Regions from separate parts of the Homo sapiens genome. Here all the other regions are linked to region 1. Evidence: promoter capture Hi-C in 16 types of primary human blood cells and fetal thymus (Javierre and others, 2016). All regions are on one chromosome and are shown on one strand. The core of a region is centred on a gene start or on the middle of the fragment in contact, and the rest is flanking DNA. Distances in the headings are between cores, read along the strand shown.

Region 1 (4,323 bases), core at 845-3,344:
CCCACCTTTCCCCTCGACCACGTCTTTCCCTACAACAATCTCCCGCACCTCCATAACGCGAAATCCCCAGCCGAGGTGCGGCCGGCTCCTCCCAGCCTTGCCCCGGACGTCCCTCTGGCCCAGCCTTCCTCTCGGCGGGACCCCGGCGAGGAGGGCCCCCTCCACCGACCAGTTCACCTCCCTATCCCTTCCCCGGCCTCTTGGCGCCCCTGCAGGGCTCTGTCCCGAAACCGAACCTCGAGGAGCCAAGCCCACGAGGCCAGTCGCGGGACCCACACCCCCCTTCCTTCTCCCAGCACCTCGTCCTCCATGCACCCGGCCCCCGGGGCTCCTCGTCGTCGTCGTCCCGGCTCGTACCGCCCCCCGTCGGGGGCTCCACCCCCCCGCCTGCCCCCGCCCCCAGGACGGCCCCCTCCCCACCGCGCGCCGCCTGCGCCCTCTGCCCCGGCACGGGACTCTCTTTGGCCTCCGTTCCCCGCCCAGAAGCGGCGGCGGCGGCGGCGGCAACGGCTGCGGCGGCCCCAGCAGGAGCAGCAGCGGCGGCGGCGGCAGCGGCGGCGGCAGCAGCGCCGCCCCCGGCCCCGCCCCGCCGCCCGCCGGAGCCCCACGCCCCGCCCGCCCGCCCCGCCGCCGGACTGCTCCCCCCGAAGCCCACCACTAAGCCCTCCCACTCCCCGGCCGCGATCCGCTCGAATCCAGCTCCGCTGGGCCTGCTGTCCGTCCCTCACGCCCCTTAGGACCCGGGGTGGGGGAGCCCTGGGGTTCGCGGCCATCCCTCTCCCTCCTTCTCCAAGGGCCGGGGGATTGCCCCTGATCCCGAAACCCGGCCCCGTAACCGGAGCCTCCCTCCTTCCAGCCCTCGGCTTCGCTCGCCGACCCCTTGCCTCCAGGCCTGGCGCGAAGCGGGTGGAGGGCTTGCACGCCGGATCTCCCCTCTGGCTTGCCGGTGCTAGTATGAATTGCCCCCGATCTCATCTTCCTTCAATTTAAGCCCCCTCCCCGCCGCGCCCGGCCCGGCGGCCCCCGCCCCTAGAGCGAGGGCAGCGGAGCCAGGGCGCTCCGAAGTCATCCCCCGCCTTTTTTCCAGGGACTCGGATAATTGCCCCTGCCCCCATCACAGCACTCCCACTCCCGAACCCAGGCCCCGCCGCCACCTAGGGGTACCCCTTACCCTACGATTCCCGCACCCCAGCGCCGGGAAGAAAGCAGCCCTGAAGAGCACCCGTCGCACCTCCCCTCTGAGGTTGGAGGGCATTTTCTCCCGGTCTCTTCAACACTTCATCACGGACACCCCCCCCCCCCAAAAAAAAGCCTTTTCTCGCCCTGCCCTGCTAGCCAGCCTCCCTTCGGATCGTCGGATCCTTGGATCGGGGGTTGGAGTCAGGTAGTTAACAAGACCATAGCCTCCACCTCCCTTTCCGAGGAGTGGGGTAATTCCTATGGTTTCCCCCCCAGGATCAACCGACCCCCGTTTCCATGGAGACCCCCGCCCAGCCGGGAAGAAGACTCTCTTGGATCGTGGCGAACGAGTCTCACCTGGCTAAGAGAGAAGGGGGTCGAGAAGGGGGTAGGGCAAGTCAGGGGATGGGGTACGAAGGTGGGAAGTGGAAGGGAGCTGTCCCGAAGGGAGGGGCGAAGACATACCCAGCTCCAGGGAGCGCTACGTCCGGGGACACGAAGAGGACGGCGCCCCCGGGGGGCAAGCCGAGCGGCCGCAGGGAAAAGAAGGAACAGGGTTGGAGAAAGGCTTAAGATAGAAAGAAGCGGGTGGGGGGATACGAAAAAGCCGGGGAGTCAAAAGGGGTGGAGGGATTGGGGGAGAGAGAAAAAAGACGCACCTGTTCCCGGGTCGGCTCCGCGGGGAGGCTCAGGCCGCCACCCGGGCTCCCTCTTACTCCCTCTTAACCGCCACCCGCCTAATACTGCCCCGATCTGATGCCCCCCTCCGCCCCTTATCGCCACCGACCTCCTTCTCCTCTCTCTCGGCGGCGGCGGCGGTCGGACTCTAGGAACTGAGAGGAAGAAGGGAGGGCTCAGCAAAGCGGAGGAGAGACAGAGCCACACACTGGCAGCAGCCGCGGCGAGCGAAAGAGTGAGGGGGAGAGCGGTGTGTGTGTGTGTCTGTGTGCGAGCGAAGCCTGGTGGAGTGGGTGCCGGTCGCAGGGCTCGACGGGAAGTGGAGTCCGGCTGGGTCCGCGGGCGGCGCCAACCCCCGCTCCACCGGACTACAACTCCCAGAATGCGGCCTACGCGGGTGGGGGGGAATGGGGAGGAGGAGGCGAAGGGAGGGAGCGAGCAAGAGAGGGAGGGACGAAAGCAGGGAGCAAGCGGCGGCGAAGGGGGCAGAGCCAAGCAGCCCCGGTGACACTGGGAGGGGAGGAGAGGAGGAGGGGATCGCTGAGAGGACCGAGCGGATTCCGGAGAGGGAGGCAGCAGTGGCTGCAGCAAGCCGGGCAAAAAGCTAGACTCCTGGGAGAGGCGGAGGCGCTCAATCTGCGGGGCTGCAGGAGCCCCACGTCCCCCCCCACCTCGACGCCCCTCGAAGGGGGAGGTTGAGGAAGGGAGAGGGTCAGTGAGCCGCGGCCAAAGGGTTCTCTCTCTTTCTTCCAACGTTCTCCACCTTATGCCCCGACCTGACTTTCTCAGGCCACTGGTGCCGATCCAGTGTGCAAATCTCGAGACCCCAGATCTCCTCTGCCGGGCAGCGGAGAACAGACGCATTCAGTCCCCTTCTCCCAGGGGCCTGAGGGAGGCTCCCCTTGCAGGCAGGGCGTGACTCCCCCTTCTTCCCGCTCCCCCCCCCACCGTCGTCGCCACCCCCCCATCTCCCTCCCCGGAACCCCTCCCCTGAAGCCGGGGCTCGCCTCTCTCTCTCCCCGCCAAGACACGGAGTCCTTCTGGGGACGACTACCCAGCCCCCTCCCTTATACTGGGCCCCTACCCACCAGTATCCCCTTCTTAGCGTTGCCCCCTCACCGAAATAATGGTGGGGGCGACCCGAGTTGGACTGGTGGCTACTTTCCCTCCAAGGCTAGCCGTCCTTCGCCACGCCGACCCTGTGTAGAAATAGAGAAGCATATTAATACTCCCGTCCCCCCTCCCCCCCAGATTTGAATACCCGTGGAAGTGGCTCACAAGAAAGAGGGGTTGGTAGTGGAAGTGAGCTAGGGGTGAATCCCAATCTTCAAACCTCATCCCTCCCATGGAAATCCAGGTATTCGCCTTTTGCTTAAAAGCCATTAAATCGCTTGGGTGGGGGGTAAATTATCTAAACCCCAATGTCCATGCGACTCGAAGCGACGCTACCTTGTAGGAATAAGATACGAACTAGGTTGCCGCCACGGGAAGGAAAGTATCCCCCACCCCCGTCGCCGTCCACCCCCAAAAACACATACCCCTAGGAGAGTCAGATGGCTGAAGAAGGGGGAAGGCGGTGGGAGTGCTGGAGAGTAAAAGGACTGTGGCGGGGAGGGTCCGCGGCCCCCACTACGAGAGCAGAATCCAGATGCTAAGAGGTGGGTGGGGGGTGCGGCACAATCGCAGACTGTGTCTTTCCTCGCTTTTCCCGGAATCGCCGCCCGATCACCGTCTAACACTCGGAGTTGCTTACCACTCAGTCCCCTAGCCCCATTTGTGCGCGTGAGGCGGCCAGAGCCCGGGAAGCCCGGGCACAAACTCCGCGGAAGCTGGCCTTCGCTGCCGCCGCGCCGCCGCGGGCCTCCCTCCCTCCGCTCGCGGCCCCGCCGATCTACCTTCGCCCCCGGCCGAGGCCAGACCCCGCTCACAACTCCACGCCCCTACTCCACCCCCGGCTCTCCCTCCCCTCGCCCTCTCCCTGCGGGTCCGGCCCAGCCCCTAGCGCCGCCCCGCCCTACCGCTCGGTCCAGAGCCCAGCAAGTGCCCCGAACTCGCCCCCCGCCCCCACGCCCAGGCCAGTCTGGCCAGGCCTGGTTTCCCCCTCCCGCCGCGCCCCGCCCCCGAATCCACGTCCTACTTCGCCACCCAACTCGGCCCGGTCGGGGTTCGGCCCGCGCCCACGCCACCGGAGTCCCCGATTCGGTCCGGTGTACGGCCACCCACCCCGCCCTTGCCTGGGTGCTGGCCTGGCCCGCTGCCTGCGCCCGCCGAGCCGGCCCAAGCGCGCGGTCCGGGTCCGGGTCCAGGTGCCGGCCTCGGTCCCGGCAGTGTTGCCGCGACTCGCCACGCGGGCTCGTTCCACGCAAGATCGGAACCCACGCGGGGTGGGGGCCGCGGGAAGCAAGTTTCTTTATCCTCCCCCCGCCCCCGCCGCAGGGCCGCACCGTTCCCCCACCACCCCCGCCT
Region 2 (4,563 bases), core at 336-2,835, 140 kb after region 1:
ACAGAGGCAGGTTGAGTTTTCTACCATGATGACTTCCCCCCGCCCCAGGTTATTTCTTGCATTTTGAAGGGTGAGGTTATTTGTAAAACTTACTTGAGTACCAGCTGTCTGTGTGAAAGACTAAATATTTTTGAAGATAGGGCTGGAGGAGGGAGTAGTGGGAAGAAGAGGGGAGAAGGAAGTAAATGTGTTAGCAGAGGAGTGGAGGGGGGAGGTGGAAATGTGACCACAGAGGAGAGGACCCTGGTGATGAATACTTTGTACATGTGTGGATGTGCGTGCTTGTGTATGTGTGTGTGTGTCTGTCATATACAGACACATAGACACTTTAGGTGGTGGCTGCCTTGTGCCTAGCCAGTGACAGGTTGTACAAGGTACACCAGCATGCCTCTGAGGAATGAAATCTCCTTCTGGTCGGCCTTTTTCTTTGGCATCTATAATTTCCTGTCCACCACATAGTGGGGGCAGGGTTTGGGGAGCAGAATGTGGGCTGCTTTGTTAGTATTAGGACTTAGCGCAGTGGCTCATGCCTGTAATCCCAGCACTTGGGGAGGCCGAGGCAGGCAGATCACTTGAGGTCAGGAGTTCGAGACCAGCCTGGCCAACATGGTAAAACCCCCGTCTCTACTAAAAATACAAAAATTAGCCCCGTGTGGCTGTTGTGCGCCTGTAGTCCCAGCTACTCGGAAGGCTGAGGCAGGAGAATCCCTTGCACCTGGGAGGCGGAGGTTGCAGTGAGCTGAGATCTTAGCCTGGATGACAGAGTGAGACTCTGTCTTAAAAAAAAAAAAAAAAAAGAACTTAGTGAGGCCTCAGGAAATCAGTTGATCTAGCCCCCTGCCTTCAGGCAGGTGAGGGTGTCTGAATAGACAAATGGTGATCTATTTTCATTCTTACATTGTCTAGGAGTAGAGACTCCACATCCTCTGGCTGCTGTATTTTTACCTTGTGGGAAGATAGTCCAAATCTTGAGGCACATCTGGAGCTGCATTTTAGTAGCAGGGTCCTGCTTGCAGCAGGTGCTTAGGAACAAGTGTGAGTTGATTTATAGCTGCCTGCAGCACAGCTCTGGGCCAGCCAGATGGCTTGAGAAGTCTGGTCAGGCATGTGGGTGCCCCTTAATGAAAAACGCATAATGTTAGCAGTGCTGGCAGATGTCCTTTTATTTTTGGATTATGCCTTTACATATCTTCTAGAAGACTTTTCAAATGAGTGACCTGTAATTTTCAGTGGACACATAGTAGATTGAATACATAAAACAAAAAAAGTTGTCCATCCTGGGGCCAGTTAGCTCTGTATTGTTAGAGTGTTTCTTTTTTTTTTTAATTATTTTTTATTTTTTATTTATTTTTTGAGACAGGGCCTTGCCCCATCACCCAGGCTGGAGTGCAGTGGCATGATCTCTGCTTTTGCAACCTCTGCCTCCCGGGTTCAAGCACTTCTCCTGCCTCAGCCTCCCGAGTAGCTGGGATTACAGACACCTGCCAAATACAAATAATTTTTGTATTTTCAGTAGAGACAGGGTTTCACCATGTTGGCCAGGCTTGTCTCGAACTCCTGACCTCAAGTTATCCACCTGCCTCAGCCTCCCCAAGTGCTGGGATTACAGGCATGAGCCACTGCGCCCGGCCTGTTAGAGGTGTTTCTGAAGAAGCCGGGGGGTCTCTCTCGGGCCGCTGTCACCGAGTAGAAATTTGGCCAAATATTCACTAAGCCTCTTGCAACTCCAAGAACCTGAAATTCTGTATAACTCTGTGTCTGTCTGGAAGACTCAAATACACACAAAAGGAGATTATAGATTACCAGTAGGTTGCTATATTTAAATATAATTGTATTCATGGTAAACGTATTTAAGTTTAAAAGCAGAGTGAAAAATGGTATAATGCTTAAAGAAAAAGGATTTTCTAATTAATTCTTAGGGTGAGGTATTTAAGAAATGTGAGTGTGTATTGCTAGTTTCAGCTTTGAGCACATGAACAATTTTCAGTTCTTTCTGCTTAAGCTCTATCCAGCTTGTGCGATGAACACATAGCTACCAGCTTGGCCTGAAGTGTTAGGACACTGTAGCAGAATGCCACTGACAACCTAGGAGACATCCAGCTACTGAAAGGCTATCGTGGTATTCAGTCAAATTCAACTTCCTGATAAAGTGTGATCCTGGAGAAAGGAACAAGTGCACTGTCTCCTGGAATTGGCTTCCAGCTTTCTCTTTTAGCTTTCTGACCTGGCCACTAGTGGGATCAAGGTCCTCAGACTTCTCTTGTGGCAAGAATGACTATGAGACTCTTGACCCCTGAAGCAGAAGCAGTTTGCTGCTATAATCAGTGCTTATGGTCTCACTGTGTCCTCTGTATATGAAGGAAATCTTATCAAGGCACTGTCAGACCAGGTTCTGTCAGGTTGGTCCCCATTAGAGCTTTTGATGTATATATTGGCAGAAGAGTCATTGAATTGGATGAACTGAAAACAGCTTTGTAACACTGCTTAGTAATCAATAGTAATCAATACAAACAATACTTTTCTAGCCTATCCAAATTCTACCCCTCTTTCAAATTCTTTCTTGAGTCTTTCTTCATGAAAACTTTCCAGTAATTTCTGCATTCATTGGGCTAATTGTACACACCGCTCATTCAACAGATAATCACATGACATTTCTTATAGTTTGGAGCTATATGGTGATTACACTTCTCACTGTTGTTGTCCCCCGCAGCTAGTCTCTTTCAAGGTCAGAGACTATGTTCAATGGCTGTGTAGCCCCCACAGTGCTCTCTACCATGCCTTACATAGAGTAGATGGCCAATAAGTGTTGCTGAATTAAAACATTCTAGATGTACTTAAAATTTAACAATCTTGACCCACAGAATCATAGGATGGTAGATCTGGAAAGGGCTTTGGAGACTATCTCCCTCCTTGTGTGGGGTGAGGAAACCAGGCCCACAGAAGTGAGTTTCCTTTATCAAGATGAGTTGACCAGCCAACGTCTCTATACTGACTCAGGGCTTTTTCTTCTAATTTCGACATTTTATCTCATTGTTCATTGTTACCCTTTGGCTATGGAATCCTGAAGATATTCAAACACACATGCTTTAGTAAAGTGTACATAGTACCAAATACTAGGCCAGCATATTCCAGATTCTTGCGAGCTAGTGTGTGTGTTACCCAGTGGCATCTAGGCTCTTTGGGTCTCCCAAGCTTATGCTCCTAGAAAATGAAGGCATCTTTGCAGAGAACTGATGGTATTGCAGCATGGCATTTCTGGTAGCCTTGCAGGAACAGGGAAGCCTATCAGGAGCTTTGTGAGTTAACAAGGGATCATCACTGCTGTGGCCACTCCTGGTCCCTGCTGCCAAGATGAGGATGGCTTGGAGAAAAATCAAGCAATGTGTGCTCTGTACATTGTTACTTAGTGACTTATCCTGATGAAAGGGGCAGTGTGGGCTGGGCGCAGTGGCTCATGCCTGTAATCCCAGCACTTTGGGATGCTGAGGCAGGTGGATCACTTGAGGTCAGGAGTTCGAGACCAGCCGGGCCAACATGGTGAAACCCTGTCTCTACTAAAAGTACAAAAAGTCAGCTGGGCTTGGTGGTGCACACCTGTATTCCCAGCTACTTGGGAGGCTGAGGCAGGAGAATCACTTGAACTTGGGAGGCGGAGGTTGCAGTGAGCCGAGATTGTGCCATTGCACTCCAGCCTGGGCAACAAAACAAGAACAAAACTCCATCTAAATAAATAAATAAATAAATAAAATAGAAAAAAGAAAGAGGAGGTGTGTCTGGCAGACAGGTGAAATAGAAAAAGCAGACCTGATAATATGAACTTACTAGGTTTGAGGAGACACAAGACTATGTAGACCAAAGCCAAACTTTGACATACCAGAATGTTAGTGCCCACAGTGACAAGGTCCAGGTTCCTGAAGAGCATCCTTATGTGAGATTGGGAAGAGGAAAAAGTGACTATATTGTGCTCTGTAACCAAGAGTGCATTCTCTGGGGAATGACTCTATGGAGGTCAGTCTTGGCTTTATCTAGCTTCGGATTCTGTCTGTGACTTGACTAACCAAATGAGTTTTAGAAAGGCATAGTTGCCTCTTTGGTATCAATCTGTTACAGTACTTAGCTAAACTTAACTTCCTGATGAAGTATGTTCCTTGAGAGAGAGTTCTTCCCAAGAGTTCCTTGGGTTGTATCTCCTGAACAGTTTGCTTTCTTTTTCTTTTCTTTTTCTTTTTTTTTCTTTGAGACGGAGTTTCATTCTTGTTGCCCAGGCTGGAGTGCAATGGCACAATCTCGGCTCACTGCAACCTCCGCCTCCCGGGTTCAAGCGATTCTCCTGCCTCAGCCTCCTGAGTAGCTGGGATTACAGGCATGCGCCACCACGCCTTGCTAATTTTGTATTTTTTAGTAGAGACAGAGTTTCTCCGTGTTGGCCAGGCTGGTCTCGAACTCCTGACTTCAGGTGATCCGCCCGCCTCTGCCTCCCAAAGTGCTGGGATTACAGGCGTGAGCTACTGCACCTGGCGGCAGTTTGCTTTCTTTTAATAATTCTTTTTTTTCCTCTTTTTT
Region 3 (4,334 bases), core at 717-3,216, 140 kb before region 1:
ATATTTTCAACTATGTAGGTAAATTCTTAATGTTCACATAGTGAAATAAATTCTGATTCTTCTAAATTAAATTCTGTTCTCTTGTCAAGGGGGCAGGTGGGTGAAGGTGGAAAGCCACGCATATTAGAAAGCAAGCAAATTGCAGCACCGACCAAGCACAGGATTTTTCTCAGCCATGTATTCATGCCCTACTCCAGACGCAAAACTCCTTTCATTTCCGAACTTCCCTCACCCCTCCAGACCTCTTTGCACACACCTGCTGTGGCCTCGGCCCACAACACTTGACTCCCCTCCTCTCCTCTCAGGAAGTTCACTATCTCTGAAGACTTTCCCAGCCTTCCAAGCCTCATCCTTGTGTATGTGTCTCCCTGCTAGCCCATGACTTCCTGGAAGCAGAAGCCCTGATGTTAAGGCCTTGCTCATGGTTTTATCTCCAGAGCTTAGCACAGGGTCTGCTTCATAGTAAGTGCTTCATAGATCATTGTCGAATGAGTGAACAAATAAATGTATGGAATAGACTTTGTTTACCTGGAACAACTCCTGTCCCAGAACTGGATTGGGTCCTGCAGGGGACAGAAAGGGCACTTACTACAAATCTGAGTTCAGAGACCTGGTGCTTCACAGTTAAACCTGGAGACGGACTCATGGAAGGACCATCATCTCTTGACTCTTCTGCCTGCTGTCCTCATGCCAGACATCTGTCCTCTCTTAAGCTCCTTTTCTCTGAAATACGCTTATGGGCATACCTCACTTTACAGATTATTTCCTGGGAATACGATTCAAAGTTTCACAAGTCAACTCATTGTTTGGCATTTTAGATTGCTTAACTTTTAAAAATCAAATCTTATTATTATTATTTTGAGATGGAGTTTTGCTCTTGTTGCCCAGGCTGGAGTGCAATGGTGCGACCTAGGCTCATCACAACCTCTACCTCCCGGATTCAAGTGATTCTGCTGCCTCAGCCTCCCAAATAGCTGGGATTACAGGCATGCGCCACCACGCCTGGCTAATTTTGTATTTTTAGTAGAGATGGGGTTTCTCCATGATGGTCAGGCTGGTCTCAAACTCCCTATCTCAGGTTATCTGCCCGCCTCGGCCTCCCAAAGTGCTGGGGTTACAGGTGTGAGTCACCGCGCCCGGCCTAAAAACATCAAATCTTATTTAAGAGGAATTTGTTACTACTTTCAAGAGTCCTGTTGTTAAACTCCATGTATATAAAGAGAAAATTATTACCAGTCTGGATTTTTTTTAAATATTGGGTTTGATTAAGGGCAGTTTCAGCTTCAACCAAATCCCTTCTGAACACTGGGAGAACAGGCCAAATCTCCACCGTAAGAATTTGCAGTACAGGTATACCGAACAATACTATATAGATACAGGTTTACTCAAATGTGATCATATCCAAATGATATATCCAAATCTATATGTAGAAAACTCATCTAGGGTTGCGCACAGTGGCTCACGCCTGTAATCCCAGCACTTGGGGAGGCCAAGGCAGGTAGATCACCTGAGGTCAGGAGTTCGAGACCATCCTGGCCAACATGGTAAAACCCCATCTCTACTAAAAATACAAAAATTCGCCAGGCATGGTGGCATGCACCTGTAGTCCCAGCTACTCAGGAGGCTGAGACAGGAGAATTGCTTGAACCTGGGAGGCGGAGGTTACAGTGAGCCAAGATCACACCACTGCACTCCAGCCTGGGCAACACAGCAATATTCCATCTCAAAAAAAAAAAAAAAAGGAAAACTCATCTAGTATCCTGTGACATCGAAATTATTATACAGCAGTAATTGCTGCTTACAGAGATGGGGGTAAGACTAAGATCCTAGTGTTCCACAAATCATTAAGAAAAGATCAAATTGTGATTTGTCTTGCTTTAGTGTTGTATACAGTTTTGTCAAATTCTTTGACAGTAGTTATCCTTGTATAGTATGTCATTGTAGTTCAGTGGATTGAAATTAAATGATCTATTCATCTAATCAGTGTTCATTGGGTGCCTCCTGTGAGCCAGGTAGATGTCAGAATAGAAACATAGATAAAACATAGCCACTGCTTTTAAGGACCTCCTGGTGTCCGTGAGGAATGCAGACATGTGGATGCAGAACTCCAATACAATGAGCTACGTCCACAGAAGGACACAAAAAGTACTGTGGCCATGCCAAGAATGGAGAGATCAGCCACAGCAGCCATCCTGAGTCAACCACTGCTATTAGACCACTTCCTAAAGCCACCACTTGGTCCATGTCCCCTCCCTGTTTAAAAATGTACAGTGATTCCCTGTCACCAACCACATCAAGTTCAAAGTCTCCTGTAGTACTAAGCCCACTCTGTTTGGCTGACTTTCCGCCTGACTTTTAATATGGACATACACACACACACACACACACACACACACCTGGTTTATTGCCACCTTTAAACTTGTGTTCATGCTCTTCACATCCGGAACGCCATCCCTCCTCCCTTTATCTATCCAAATCCTACTCATCTTTCAAGGCCTACATCAAGTCCTGCCTTGGTGGCATGGTACCAGTTGGACTAGTGCCCATGCATGATTTCTCTCTGAACTCCAGTTGCACTTAGCACCTTTGAGTGTAATTGTTCTTTAAGTCATTCTAAAGGAATTGTCACCTGTCCCAGAGCAGAGCCCATGTTTTCTTTTCAGGATGGGGACCATATTGCTGCACCCTGGTGAAGTGCTGAGCAAGTCCTTGGTTGATTGGCTGGATGATGCTAGATAACAGGGCTGACTGTAAAAATGCACCTCTGTCTTGTAACCTCTGATCTCTGTAATTCAGGTTGTTTATGGGAGGATGTTCAGATCATCACCACTTCACTCAGCTGTCACAACTTGCCACTTACCCAGGATGCATTTAATCTGCCCAAGCCCCTGAGGATCCTGGGGTCCAAATTCTTTCTTTCTTTTCTTTTTTTTTTTCTTTTTGAGATGGAGTCTCGCTCTGTTGCCCAGGCTGGAGTGCAGTGGGTGATCTCAGCTCACTGCAACCTCCACCTCCTGGGTTCAAGCGATTCTCCTGCCTCAGCCTCCCGGGTAGCTGGGATTACAAGCACACGCCACCACACCCGGCTAATTTTTGTATTTTTAGTAGAGATGGGGTTTCGCCACGTTGGCCAGGCTGGTCTCGAACTCCTGACCTCAGGTGATCTGTCTTGCCTCGGCCTCCCAAAGTGCTGAGATTACAGGCATGAGCCACTGGCCTCTAGGGTCTGATTTCTGACTCCACAGACAAGCAGTGCCAGTCGAGGTTTGGCCCTCAATAGCTGGTCTGTGATAAGCTGGGCCACACCACAGTGTGGTGCAAGGCTAGTCCCACCCTGGGAAGAAGAGGCAGGCTTTGCCCAAAGAGCAGTCATCTAGAGCCCACCCATTTGACTTCAACCTCGCTTTCCTTGGCCATTTCATAAACGGTATCAGATGGTCCTTGGCACCACTTAGTGATGGTCCTAACCTCTGCCTGGCTACCTGTAAACCACAGCAGGGGGTGTCCTAATGTTTTTAAAGGTGGAGAGGTGGAACTGAGGGAAGGAAGGAAGTTTGATTGGAAAGGGGTTAGATTAAGCCTCTTAGTGAAGGATGAGGTCAACATTTGTGATTTTTTTTGTTGTTGTTCTAATCAACAGGGCCTGTTTTGGAGACAAGAGGCTTTAAACAGAAAGGGCTGGGGGTGGGACTCCACAGTGACCTACTGCAGGCTGCTTCCTTGAAGGAAAATCAGCAGCTTCTCAAGAGACCCATTTATACAAAGGAACTCTCCCCTCCCTTCCCCCACTGCCCCTTCCCTTTCCCGCTCCTCTCCAGTTTGGCTGCTGCCATATCCCTTCTGTACGTCCTTCCCTGACTCCACCTAAAGCCAGGCACCCTTGCTGCCCTAGAGATTGTTGGGACTCGCTCCCAGTGCCTTGCTTTCTGGGCAGAGGGGAAGTTCTGCTGGGCCCAGAGGTGAAGTAAGACTGCCTCTGGTCTCTTTCCCATCTTATCAGGGAATTCCTGGCGGGCACAGACACGCGTACACAAAACCACACACAGATACACTCAGCCCAAGCCAGTGATGACGTTCCCCTGCCTGGCTGGTTCTACGTATGGGTGTGACTAGGTCAAAGAGGACAGGGAGGGTCTAAATATTTAGATACTGGACTGCCAAGCCCTCGATGGAAACCAGAGATCCTCTCAAAATGAACATTTGCTGAAAGAAAAGCAGCCTCTGGCGTCTCTGGAAGCTCGCCCGGTACTGTCGGCCAGGACTTGGTGTTGCTACCAACTGGCCTGGCACTCACAGCTAGATCTGGGTGTTCTGCTGAACATACATTCATAGGG

The links. Contacts are between HindIII fragments. The CHiCAGO score rates a contact against its expected background, and 5 or more counts as called.
Region 2: a fragment that was not itself captured here is called in contact with the fragment with the promoter of BCORL1 in region 1 in 9 of 17 cell types (activated CD4 T cells, total B cells, naive B cells and 6 more); the score reaches 8.5 in activated CD4 T cells.
Region 3: a fragment that was not itself captured here is called in contact with the fragment with the promoter of BCORL1 in region 1 in 2 of 17 cell types (non-activated CD4 T cells and activated CD4 T cells); the score reaches 10.2 in non-activated CD4 T cells.

The regions. Positions count from the first base shown.
Region 1 is chrX:129,980,406-129,984,728 of GRCh38, reverse strand. It overlaps BCORL1 (BCL6 corepressor like 1), which reads right to left and starts at 2,094. Exons shown (of 14, transcript NM_001379451.1): 1 at 1,967-2,094. RefSeq lists a silencer at 1,029-1,265. The HindIII fragment of the contact is 8,398 bases long and covers 1-4,323 here.
Region 2 is chrX:129,835,458-129,840,020 of GRCh38, reverse strand. The region is part of intron 3 of ZDHHC9 (zDHHC palmitoyltransferase 9); the gene reads left to right. Among named protein-coding and RNA genes, the nearest start is that of ZDHHC9, 6.1 kb to the left of the region's middle. The HindIII fragment of the contact is 3,218 bases long and covers 1-3,194 here.
Region 3 is chrX:130,125,099-130,129,432 of GRCh38, reverse strand. It overlaps AIFM1 (apoptosis inducing factor mitochondria associated 1), which reads left to right. Exons shown (of 16, transcript NM_004208.4): 16 at 1-71. It also overlaps a transcript of RAB33A not described here. Among named protein-coding and RNA genes, the nearest start is that of ELF4, 17 kb to the right of the region's middle. The HindIII fragment of the contact is 9,973 bases long and covers 1-4,334 here.